Regions from separate parts of the Homo sapiens genome. Here regions 2 and 3 are each linked to region 1. Evidence: promoter capture Hi-C in human tissues and cell types (Jung and others, 2019). All regions are on one chromosome and are shown on one strand. The core of a region is centred on a gene start or on the middle of the fragment in contact, and the rest is flanking DNA. Distances in the headings are between cores, read along the strand shown. Region 1 holds the start of DALRD3 (DALR anticodon binding domain containing 3). Region 2 holds the start of SLC26A6 (solute carrier family 26 member 6). Region 3 overlaps PRKAR2A (protein kinase cAMP-dependent type II regulatory subunit alpha).

The links. Contacts are between HindIII fragments. The study calls those that stand out against the background at their distance.
Region 2: the fragment with the promoter of SLC26A6 here is called in contact with the fragment with the promoter of DALRD3 in region 1 in 1 of the 25 tissues and cell types used here (psoas muscle).
Region 3: a fragment that was not itself captured here is called in contact with the fragment with the promoter of DALRD3 in region 1 in 1 of the 25 tissues and cell types used here (bladder).

The regions. Positions count from the first base shown.
Region 1 is chr3:49,016,984-49,020,404 of GRCh38, reverse strand. DALRD3 (DALR anticodon binding domain containing 3) reads left to right here and starts at 1,825. Exons shown (of 12, transcript NM_001009996.3): 1 at 1,825-2,005; 2 at 2,087-2,382; 3 at 2,536-2,792; 4 at 2,892-2,971; 5 at 3,049-3,177. The coding sequence starts at 1,841. MIR425 (microRNA 425) reads left to right here and starts at 171; the gene lies at 171-257. RefSeq lists a silencer at 2,595-2,829 and enhancers at 2,278-3,049, 3,335-3,404. The HindIII fragment of the contact is 18,150 bases long and covers 1-3,421 here.
Region 2 is chr3:48,633,590-48,637,010 of GRCh38, reverse strand. It overlaps SLC26A6 (solute carrier family 26 member 6), which reads left to right and starts at 1,550. Exons shown (of 21, transcript NM_022911.3): 1 at 1,550-1,640; 2 at 3,376-3,421. The coding sequence starts at 1,618. It overlaps CELSR3 (cadherin EGF LAG seven-pass G-type receptor 3), which reads left to right. Exons shown (of 35, transcript NM_001407.3): 35 at 1-548. MIR6824 (microRNA 6824) reads left to right here and starts at 3,313; the gene lies at 3,313-3,375. RefSeq lists silencers at 1,342-1,621, 2,012-2,111. The HindIII fragment of the contact is 9,287 bases long and covers 1-2,512 here.
Region 3 is chr3:48,758,068-48,761,488 of GRCh38, reverse strand. All of the region lies in intron 8 of PRKAR2A (protein kinase cAMP-dependent type II regulatory subunit alpha), which reads left to right. Among named protein-coding and RNA genes, the nearest start is that of IP6K2, 43 kb to the right of the region's middle. The HindIII fragment of the contact is 4,310 bases long and covers 1-3,421 here.

The sequences.
Region 1 (3,421 bases), core at 576-3,075:
ACTCCCCCAGGGCTGCCTCAGCCCGCATCTCGCTAAAGATAGCCCTCTTACTTCCTGGGGAAAAACCACCCCAACCGTCTTCGTGGATGAGAGTATCTGAAGTCCTCAGTTTGACTGAGGGTTCCCAACCCTGCTAAGCAGTTGTCTCCAGGTCATGCACCTTCAGAATGGAAAGCGCTTTGGAATGACACGATCACTCCCGTTGAGTGGGCACCCGAGAAGCCATCGGGAATGTCGTGTCCGCCCAGTGCTCTTTCGGCGCCTCCCAGCAGGGCCTCAGCCCTGGCCCAGAAAGGGGCCTTGCCAAGCTTTTCCTGCCCCTGGGTTTCCCTGCTCTCCGGATTTCCCAACTCTCTCTACTGAGTTAGCTTCTCTATTAAAAGGAATGGGGGTGGGGTGGGGGGTGAGTAAGTTACAGTGAAATGAAGACATTTGGGAACCTTTGTGGGAGAAAGAAAAAGACCTTTCCTATTGGTAGAGGAGCAAGATACTCCAACTGAGGCCTATTTTCTATTATGGTCGCATTATTTGGTTGGCCCGTAAATGGCTGTTGCCTAAAACAGGAAGCTTTAAGGATCGTTGTTAAAGCACACCAGGTTAAAGGAGTCACATTAAAAGCTGGTCATTCTGAGCCGGGCGCGGTGGCTCACGCCTGTAATCCCAGCACTTTGGGAGGCCGAGGCAGGCGGATCACCTGAGGTCGGGAGTTCGAGGCTTGACAAACATGGAGAAACCCCGTCTCTATTAAAAATACAAAAGTAGCCGGGCGTGGTGGCGCGTGCCTGTAATCCCAGCTACTTGGGAGACTGAGGCAGGATAATCACTTGAACCCGGGAGGGGGAGGTTGCGGTGAGCCAAGATCACACCACTGTACTCCAGCCTGGGCAACAGGAGCGAAACTCCGTCTCAAAAAAAAAAAAAAAAAGTCTGGTAATTCTGGAAGCCATCATGATGGTTGTGATTTCTCAGGTATCAAGAGAAGAAAACCGCCAACTGTATCAGAGTGCTTATTTATTGGGCATAAAGACCACCCGGGCTGGGTGCAGTGGCTGATGCCTGTAATCCCAGCACTTTCGGAGGCCGAGGCGGGCAGGTCACGAGGTCAGGAGTTCGAGACCAGCCTGGCCAACATGGCGAAACCCCGTCTCTACTAAAAATACAAAAATTAGCCGGGCGTGGTGGCGGGCGCCCGTAATCCCAGCTACTCGGGAGGCTGAGGAGGAGAATCCTGTGAATCCGGGAGGTGGAGGCTGCAGTGAGCCGAGATCGTGCCACTGCACTCCAGCCTGGGAGACAAGAGCAAGACTCCGTCTCAAACAAACAAAAAAACACCCATATCTCAAACGAGAAAATGCTTGCAAATAACCTGAAACCGCGGAACACTATTCTTTTTAAAACGAGATATTTTAAGTAGGTCGTGAAAGTGGCCTTAATGTTATACTGCCTTATTCCAGTGACGAATATTCATCATGTGTAAAATGGGAGAAATGAAATGTTATTAAAACAAACATGTGAGACTTCGATGAGAAGAGACGGTACCCGGTCTAAGCGCCCACCGGGTCGCGAGGATCCTTTTCCTGGTTAAGGCCTGGGTCACAGCGAAAGAACCCTAGGCCCAGGGAGGGCCCCGAGATTTCAGATCCGGGGCCCGGCTGTGCAGGTGGACCACGCGGAAGGGGCGCTGGGGGCGGTAGGTCGAAAGCAGCCGACAGGGCTACCACTGGCGCACCTGTCCACTTACGGGGACCACCGCCGCATCCCCGCCCCAGCTAGTCGGTCCTTTCCGGAAGTTCCACCTCCCTAAATTTTTTTCCGGTTCCGCTTACTCCTTCCGGTCACCATGGCGACCAGGCGCCTTGGGGTCGGGGAGACGCTGGGGGCCCTCAACGCGGCCCTGGGGCCAGGCGGTCCGGTGTGGATCAAGGAGACGCGCACCCGCCACCTGCGTTCCCGAGACTTTCTGGCACCGCACCGCGCGCTGCAGGCGCGCTTCGATGACGGCCAGGTGGGCGTGAGCCGGGCGGGGCCGTGCGGCCGGGAGATGGGCCCCGTGCCGTGGCTCTTTTACACGCCCGTTCTCCCGCAGGTTCCGGAGCATTTGCTCCATGCCCTCGCCTGCCTGCAGGGCCCCGGTGTGGCCCCGGTGCTGCGCTGCGCGCCGACCCCCGCGGGTCTGTCTCTCCAACTGCAGCGGTCCGCCGTCTTCGAGCGCGTCCTCAGCGCCGTGGCCGCCTATGCCACGCCCGCCTCGCCTGCCTCGCTGGGCCAGCGCGTCTTACTACACTGCCCAGCACTGCGCAGCTCCCCCTGCGCACTCCGCTTGAGCCAGCTGCGTACGGTGCTCGTGGCCGATCACCTGGCGCGAGCCCTGCGCGCTCACGGGTGAGCGGGGCCGCGGGGCCGGAATGGAGAAAGTGGGACTGCCGGGTACCTAGAAAGCGAGCGGCGCCGCCCGTGGGGACTGCGGCTGGAGGTGGGAAGTCGTGGCGAGCTGGACCAGGTGCTCAGACTGAGGCGGCCGCCCTCCCTTCGCAGGGTGTGCGTGCGCCTAGTGCCAGCTGTGCGGGATCCGCACATGCTGACCTTCCTGCAGCAACTGCGGGTGGACTGGCCCGCTGCCTCGGAGAGAGCTTCCTCCCACACCCTGAGGAGCCACGCCCTTGAAGAACTTACCTCTGCTAATGACGGGAGGACACTGTCCCCTGGCATCCTAGGCAGACTGTGTCTGAAGGAGCTGGTGGAAGAACAGGGCCGCACAGCTGGCTATGACCCCAACCTGGACAACTGTCTGGGTAGGACCTGAAGCCTAGCAGGGCCAGAAAAGGCAGGAGGGGGTTAGGGGCACATCTCTGCTTCTTGTCAGTCTCAGCACCTGTCTGTTCTCTTTTCAGTGACTGAGGATCTCCTCTCTGTGCTGGCTGAGCTGCAAGAGGCTCTATGGCATTGGCCCGAGGACAGCCACCCAGGCCTGGTTAGTGACTCCCAGCCCTGTAGGTTCTCCCAAACCAAGTATACTGTACTTCCACAGTTATGATTGTCCTCCCTTAGGCTGGGGCCTCAGATACTGGTACAGGCGGCTGCCTGGTTGTACATGTTGTTAGCTGTGAGGAGGAGTTCCAGCAACAGAAGTTGGACCTGCTTTGGCAGAAGTTGGTTGACAAGGCTCCACTCAGACAGGTAGGTTAATAATGATGGTGGAGCTCCCCACCACCTAACCCCCAACCTCAGAGGGCCCTTGAAAACCCACCGAGGGGCTTGTTAGCTGACAGAAACCAACACTTGACCTTGGGGGAGTTGCTGGACTTGAGAGGGCATGTACAGCAGGTGCAGAGGCTCTGGGGAAGGGGGGTCTGTAGACACATCCCAAGAACACTGAAGACCAGGTTGAGAAGGATGAACCATGCGTAGCCTGAGTGGCTGG
Region 2 (3,421 bases), core at 301-2,800, 380 kb after region 1:
ATAATTTTTTTTCCTTTGTTTCCAAGTGAAAGGTAGGGAAAGTGGGAGAGGGACTTGGAGGACCCACCTGTGAGGACCCTGACCTGGCCATCTTGAGGGGTTTTCTAACCCCCAGGTCTCCCAGGCCGAAGGTCAGCCTTGAGTCCCGTTTAACAGCAGATCCAGAAGACCTTGAGAGTAGGCGTCCTCTAACCACGGGGGAGAGTGGCTGTGCAGGGCTGGGGGGTGGTCTGTGCAGACACCTCCTCACCCACCACCCCATGCATACTCTTGGGAAGCAGCTTCCTGGGAGATTAGAAATTCTACTTCCCTGACTGGAGCTAAATCCCACCAGCCAGGACCCAAACTCTCCTTACCGAGAAGGACCCCAGCTCTTGAAGGGCTGAGTGGCCTGCTGGGGGTGGGAGGGTGTCTTTACTATGTCCTAGGTTTCGTAGATGCCCCTCTCTGGGGTTCCCCTCCTCCAGCCCAGCGGCCCTCTTTCCTGTCTGTGTAAATTGTTCCGTGAAGCCGCGCTCTGTTTTGGGAATAAACTTCTATAGAAAACAGTTGTTGCCTTTTCCTGTTGGGGGCTGGGGAGGTAGGATGGAAGCTGTGAATGATTCAAGCCAGACTGACCTTTGGGAGGAATCTGAGCCCCTCCCAAGAATATCCAGCTATTTTTAGCCCATTTCATGGCAGATCTCTTTCACCTTGAAATCTGGCCCCTCACTTTGTAATTGGGGCCTGATGTTGGAGCACAGGTGCTGAAAATAAGGTGCTAAGGAAAACCTCCCCGCTGGTCAAGGCAACGGCAACAGGACTTCCTAATTCTTCAGGGTCTGCAGCCCTGACCCGGCATTTTTTGCCCTCACCTGCGGTGAAACCAACCTGAGGAACTGCTCTTGCAGTTCCTGCCTTGCCCACCCAACAGCACTGACGCCCACCCAACAGCACTGACCCCCACCATTCTCCTCGGCGGCCCGCGCAGTAACCTTCTGGGAGCTACGTCCGGGCTGTGCTTAGTGCAGCGGAGGGGATCCTCCAACCATTTCTGGCCTGGGTGGCCAGAGTTAAAGGGGAGGACTTGGGGACCGTTGGCTCCGGGTCTCAAAGAGATGCGTAGTCGCAGAAAGCCTGCGGGTGGCGCTCTCAGCTGAAGGCAAGAGAGGCCCCACAGACCTGGATCCCCTACGAGTTAAGGCTGGGGTCACCGGCCAGTGGAGTTTCCTTTTCCCACTCCGTGAGCACCTTCCGCCGAGCCAGGACCTGGGATCAGCTCCAACCTACTCAGGGCCTGGGGGCGCGACTGCGGCCAGCCCGGCGCGGGTGCTTAGTTCCAGTTCTGCAGTCCCATCCAGCTCCGGGCAGAGGGCCGGGCGAGCAGCGAGAGGCCTCATAGGCCAGGTCGCCGGGGAGGAAGCGGTTAAATCCTCCTTCTCCAGTCTCTCCCCGCCCGGCGCGCGCCACTTAGGCCCCGCCCCAGCGCGCTGATTGGCCCAAGCCTCCCCGTCCTGCCCCGGGATTAGCCCCCGGGAGAGCGCAGCTGGCCTCACCCGGTCCCGGCGCCGCCTTCCGGAGCGTAGCGGCCTCTAGCTCGAGCAGCAGGAGCAGCCCGCACCGGACAACTTGCGAGCCATGGGGCTGGCGGATGCGTCGGGGTGAGTTCAGCGCACATTCCCGGTGGCCCCGCGCGAGCGCCTCGCTGGAGCAGGCATTCTCCGCTTGCGACGCCTCGCTGGAGCAGGCATTCTCCGCTTGCGACGCCTCGGTTTACCTCTGCTGATTTTCTGCAGGCGGCTGCCCCTCTGCAGCAAGGGGTGGGGGCGGGAGCCGGCGCGACCCCAGTCCCTTGGGCTGTGCGGAAAGCCGCTGGTGTGACGCCCGAGGGCCATCCCGGGCCACAGGGAGGCAGCTGCGTGCGGAGGAGCCCGGCCAGGAGATGTGCCGGCGGGGGTGCGTGGGGCACGGGAGTCCCTGGCAGCGGCCCGTGGACTAGCTGCTTTCAGCTGAGTCCCGAGTCCACCCAGCTCCACTGATCCCGGAGTGAGCGCTCCGGCCTTTCTGGCCCCAGTTGCCTTCCTACAGGGAGGGGCCAATGATCAAGGCTCCGCCCTCCAAACGCGGGTCCCAAGTTGTCGGGGGAGGGAGCCCTTTAAGAAGACCTGAGTGACTCACGTAGGAAAGGAGAGGGGGCTCTACGATCTCCTTGAGATAGCGGTCCCAAGAGTCTCTGAGGATCTTCCTTGCACCCACTCCACACTCCTCCAACAGTACAGCCAGGTTAGAGGCGCTTCCCAGGTGAGTTCCTGTCCCTCAAATGGGATCCTCTCCCCAGGTCAGGGCTTTTCCTAGATCAGAACTTTCCTGACTGGTGAAAGCTTCCCCAACAGGCTAGAGTTTTCCCCCAGGTAAGATCCTTCTGTGAGATCTATTCCCAGGTGACAGCTTTTCCCCATTCCACGTGGGAGCCTCGCCCGAGGTCAGAGCTTTCTCTATGGGAGAGTACCCCCCAGGTGAGAACCCTCTCCCTCTAGGTCTTTTCTTCCCATGTGAGATCTTTCTCTGACTTCAAGTAGGTGCCTCTGGGCAGAGGGAAGATTCCCCCTGTATCAGAACTTGCCAGGCTGATAAAGATTCCCTGGTAGGTCAGAGATCCCTCTAGGTGAGATTCCCCTTGAAAGCTTCTATTCCCAGGTGAGCTCTTTCCCCCACTTCAAGTGGGTACTTCCCTTTCCATGTGGGAGCCTCTCCCTCTAGGTGAGAGATTGCCACTCCAAGAGCAAGCTCCTTCTCAGGTGAGAGCCAGTCCTTGGCTTCCCCATAACAGGCCTGAGCCGTCTACAACCTGGACCCTGGGGCTGGAGGCCCAGGGGCAAGCTTGGCTCCAACACTTTCCTTCCCTTAGAGGGGAGGGTCTCATCTGAGGCCTGAGGCTTGGGAAAGGAGTTGCTTGAGGAGCTGGACCCCTGGTTTGCTGGACCCCTTCCCTGAGTGTGCTCTCAGCCAGCAGTGGGCTCCCGGGGCAGCTGGAGGAGGACCTGGGGACTGGAGAGGGACTGGGTGGGGGAGGGAGCAGCCTGGGACCTGGACTGGTAGAACACTCAGCACTGGGCTGCCACATCTCGGCTGGAGGTATAGCTAGTGCTCATCCTGCAGTCCCTACTTGGGGGACTTTGTCCTAGAAAGAGGCTTTCTCACCAGCCAAAGTTCAGGTACTGCCCCTGTCTGAGTTTGGACATGTGGCCCACAGATGCCAGCTGGGGGCTGGAATACTGTACCTTGATCTTAGGGCCTGGAAAAATCAGGTAGGTAACTCTCTGGTCCTAGGTGGAGGTGTAGGGGAGGTTGGGCCAGGGATGCCTTCACTGTGTCTCTCTGGTCTTGCCACCCCAGACCGAGGGACACACAGGCACTGCTGTCTGCAACACAAGCAATGGAC
Region 3 (3,421 bases), core at 236-2,735, 260 kb after region 1:
ATTTTTAATACTGTCTTCAAAATCTAATGTATGTTTTCCATCTATAGCACATCTAAGTTTATACTAGCAACATTTCAAGTGCTCAGCCACATTTGACTCGTGGCTAATGTATTGAGCAGTACAGCTCTAGACAGTCAGAATTTTAGCTCTTACCTTAGGTCTGTGATCCATTTTGAGTTATTTTTATTGTTTTTGTTTTGTTTTTTTGAGATGGAGTCTCCCTCTGTCACCCAGGCTAGAGTGCAGTGGTGTGATCTCGGCTCACTGCAAGCTCCGCCTCCTGGGTTCACGCCATTCTCCTGCCTCAGCCTCCCAAGTAGCTGGGACTACAGGCGCCCGCCACCACGTCCGGCTAATTTTTTGTGTTTTTAGTAGAGACAGGTTTCACCGTGTTAGCCAGCATGGTCTCAGTCTCCTGACCTCGTGATCCTCCTTCCTCTGCCTCCCAAAGTGCTGGGATTACAGGTGTGAGCCACTGCACTCAGCCTTGTTTTTGTTTATTAGAAGCAAGGTCTCACTCTGTCTTTCAGGCTTCAGTACAGTGTGCAATCATAGCTCACTGCAGCCTTGAACTTCTAGGCTCAAGCAATACTCTTCCCTTAGCCTTCCAAGTAATGCCACCACACTAAGCTAATTTTTTTTTTTTTTTTTTTGAGACGGAGTTTTGCTCTTGTTGCCCAGGCCAGAGTGCAATGCCACGATCTCAGCTCACCACCACCCCCGCCTCCTGTGTTCAAGCGATTCTCCTGCCTCAGCTTCCTGAGTAGCTGGGATTACAGGCATGCACCACCATGCCCAGCTAATTTTTTTTTTTTTTTTTTTAGTAAAGACAGGGTTTCTCCATGTTGGTCAGGCTGGTCTGTGAACTCCCTACCTCAGGTGATCCGCCCACCTCAGCCTCGGCCTCCCAAAGTGCTGGGATTACAGGTGTGAGCCACTGCGCCCGGCCTACACCCAGCTAATTTTTAAATTTTTTGTAGAGACAGGGCCTCTCTATGTTGCCCATGCTGGTCTTGAACTTCTGACCTCAAGTGATCCTCCCACCTCACCTCCCAAGTAGCTAAGATTACAGGCTTGTGCCACCATACCTGACTACATTTTTGTGTTTTGTTTTGTTTTGTTTTGTTTTTTGAGACAGAGTCTTGCTCTTGTTGTCCAGGCTGGAGTGCAATGGCACAATCTCGGCTGACTACAACCTCCACCTCCCCAGTTCAGGTGATTCTTCTGCCTCAGCCTCCCGAGTAGCTGGAACTACAGGCATGCATCACCATGCCCGGCTAATTTTTTTTTATTTTTAGTAGAGAACAGGGTTTTTGCCTGTTGGCCATGCTGGTCTCAAGCTTCTGACCTCAGGTGATCTGTCCGCCTTGGCCTTCCAAAGTACTGGGATGGCGTGAGCCACCACACCTGGCCTACATTTTTGTTTTTTAATGACTTGTATAATTTTCACAAGTAATTTTCATGATTGATAGAATATTTAGCTTATTCTTAGAGTAATGTAGACAGAAGGTGGCTTTAGTTTTACAAAATCATGTTTTATGTTTTTGCTATTAAAGTACCATTGCATTAAACCAAAAAGATTCCCATATCCTGAAAATTAGGGCTTCAGTCATTCTTATGGTGGAATGTGGATCTTATATTATCTGTTGTGAAAAAGAGACATATAAGAACCTGATGACATGTTCACAAAGACCTAAAATGCAGTACAGTCTGGCTTCTTTACTGTTGAATGTAGAATGGAATGTTCTTTCTGTGAGATGTGTACACAGAGCCTATTAGTGAACTTGAAAAGCAGGATACTTGGCCGGGCGCAGTGGCTCATGCCTGTAATCCCAGCACTTAGGGAGGCCGAGGCAGGCGGATCACCTGAGGTTGGGGGTTCGAGACCAGCCTGACCAACATGGAGAAACCCTGTCTCTACTAAAAATACAAAATTAACTGAATGTGGTGGCACGTGCCTGTAAATCCCAGCTACTCAGGAGGCTGAGGCAGGAGAATCACTTGAACCCAGGAGGTAGAAGTTGTGGTGAGCCAAGATCGCGCCATTGCGCTCCAGCCTGGGCAACAAGAGTGAAACTCCGTCTCAAAAAAAAAAAAAAAAAAAGGGGCAGGATGCTCTTCCAGTGAGCTCTCTTTTCCAACTGGGTAGTCATCTCATTCTACCCTGCAAAATGACAGCAGTCCTACAAAGCCTGAACAGCCAGTATACCCAGAATATCCACCACTGGACAGCATGGAAACAGGAAATGTGTGTCTTGGCCCACACATTTAGCCTGTCCCAGCCTAACCAGGCTGTTTCATGAGATTGGAAATGCAAAAGAGTGCATCCCTTAACTGCCACAAAGATCAACTGTTTTCAGCTGATGGTTAAAATCATCAAAACATGGTTTTATTTTAAATTTTATCCCCTTGCATTGTTTCACATTATCATAATCCATTGTAGTGAAGTATTACCAAATCAGTAAAATTTAATGGACCAAAGTCCTTTCACTGTCCTTCATTTGGTCCAGAGGAAGAGGTGAACCAAGGCTTTTTGTTTCTCATGTATTCTAGATGACATTCTTTCCCATCTCCTCTCAACCCTGAATCTACCAACTACTCACGCTACCTGCTAGGGAAAGATTATTTATCCCCCAGGCTTCTGAGGAAAGTCATCCACAAAATTGGATAGTAATAGTACCTACTTTCTTAGACTTCTTTGGCAAAAAAAATGAAATGATACACATAAAGTACTCACCAGAGAGCCTGCTGGGAGTGAGCACACAGCAACATTAGCAGCTTCTATTCTATATGAGCTCCCCTGTTCATTCTCCTCAGGCCCTAAGTCATTCTTATCCTGTACACATACCCTAGTCTCTGCTGTCTTCTTCATTTTGTTTTCCTTTTCTCTTTTTTTTTTTTTTTTTTTGAGACAGTCTTGCTCTGTCGCCCAGGCTGGAGTGCAGTGGCACAATCTCGGCTTACTGCGACCTCCACCTCCTGGGTTCAAGCGATTCTCGTGCCTTAGCCTCCTGAGTAGCTGGGATTACAGGCACACACCACCACGCCTGGCTAATTTTTTGTAGTTTAGGTAGAGATGGGGTTTCGCCGCCATGTTGCCCAAGCTGGTCTCGAACTCCTGAGCTCAGGCAGTCTGCCTGCCGTGGCCTCCCAAAGTGCTAGGATTATAGGCATGAGCCACTGCACCAGGCCATTTTTTTTTCCTTTTTTCTTTTTTTCTTTTTTTTTTTTGAGATGGAGTCTGACTCTTTTGCCCAGGCTGGAGTACAGTGGTGCAACCTCGGATCACTGCAACCTCCACCTCCCAGGTTTAAGTGATTCTTGTGCCTCAGTCTCCCAAGTAGCTGGGATTACAGTTGTGCACCACCACTCCTGGCTAATTTTTGTGTATGTATGTATGTATGTATGCATGTATGTATTT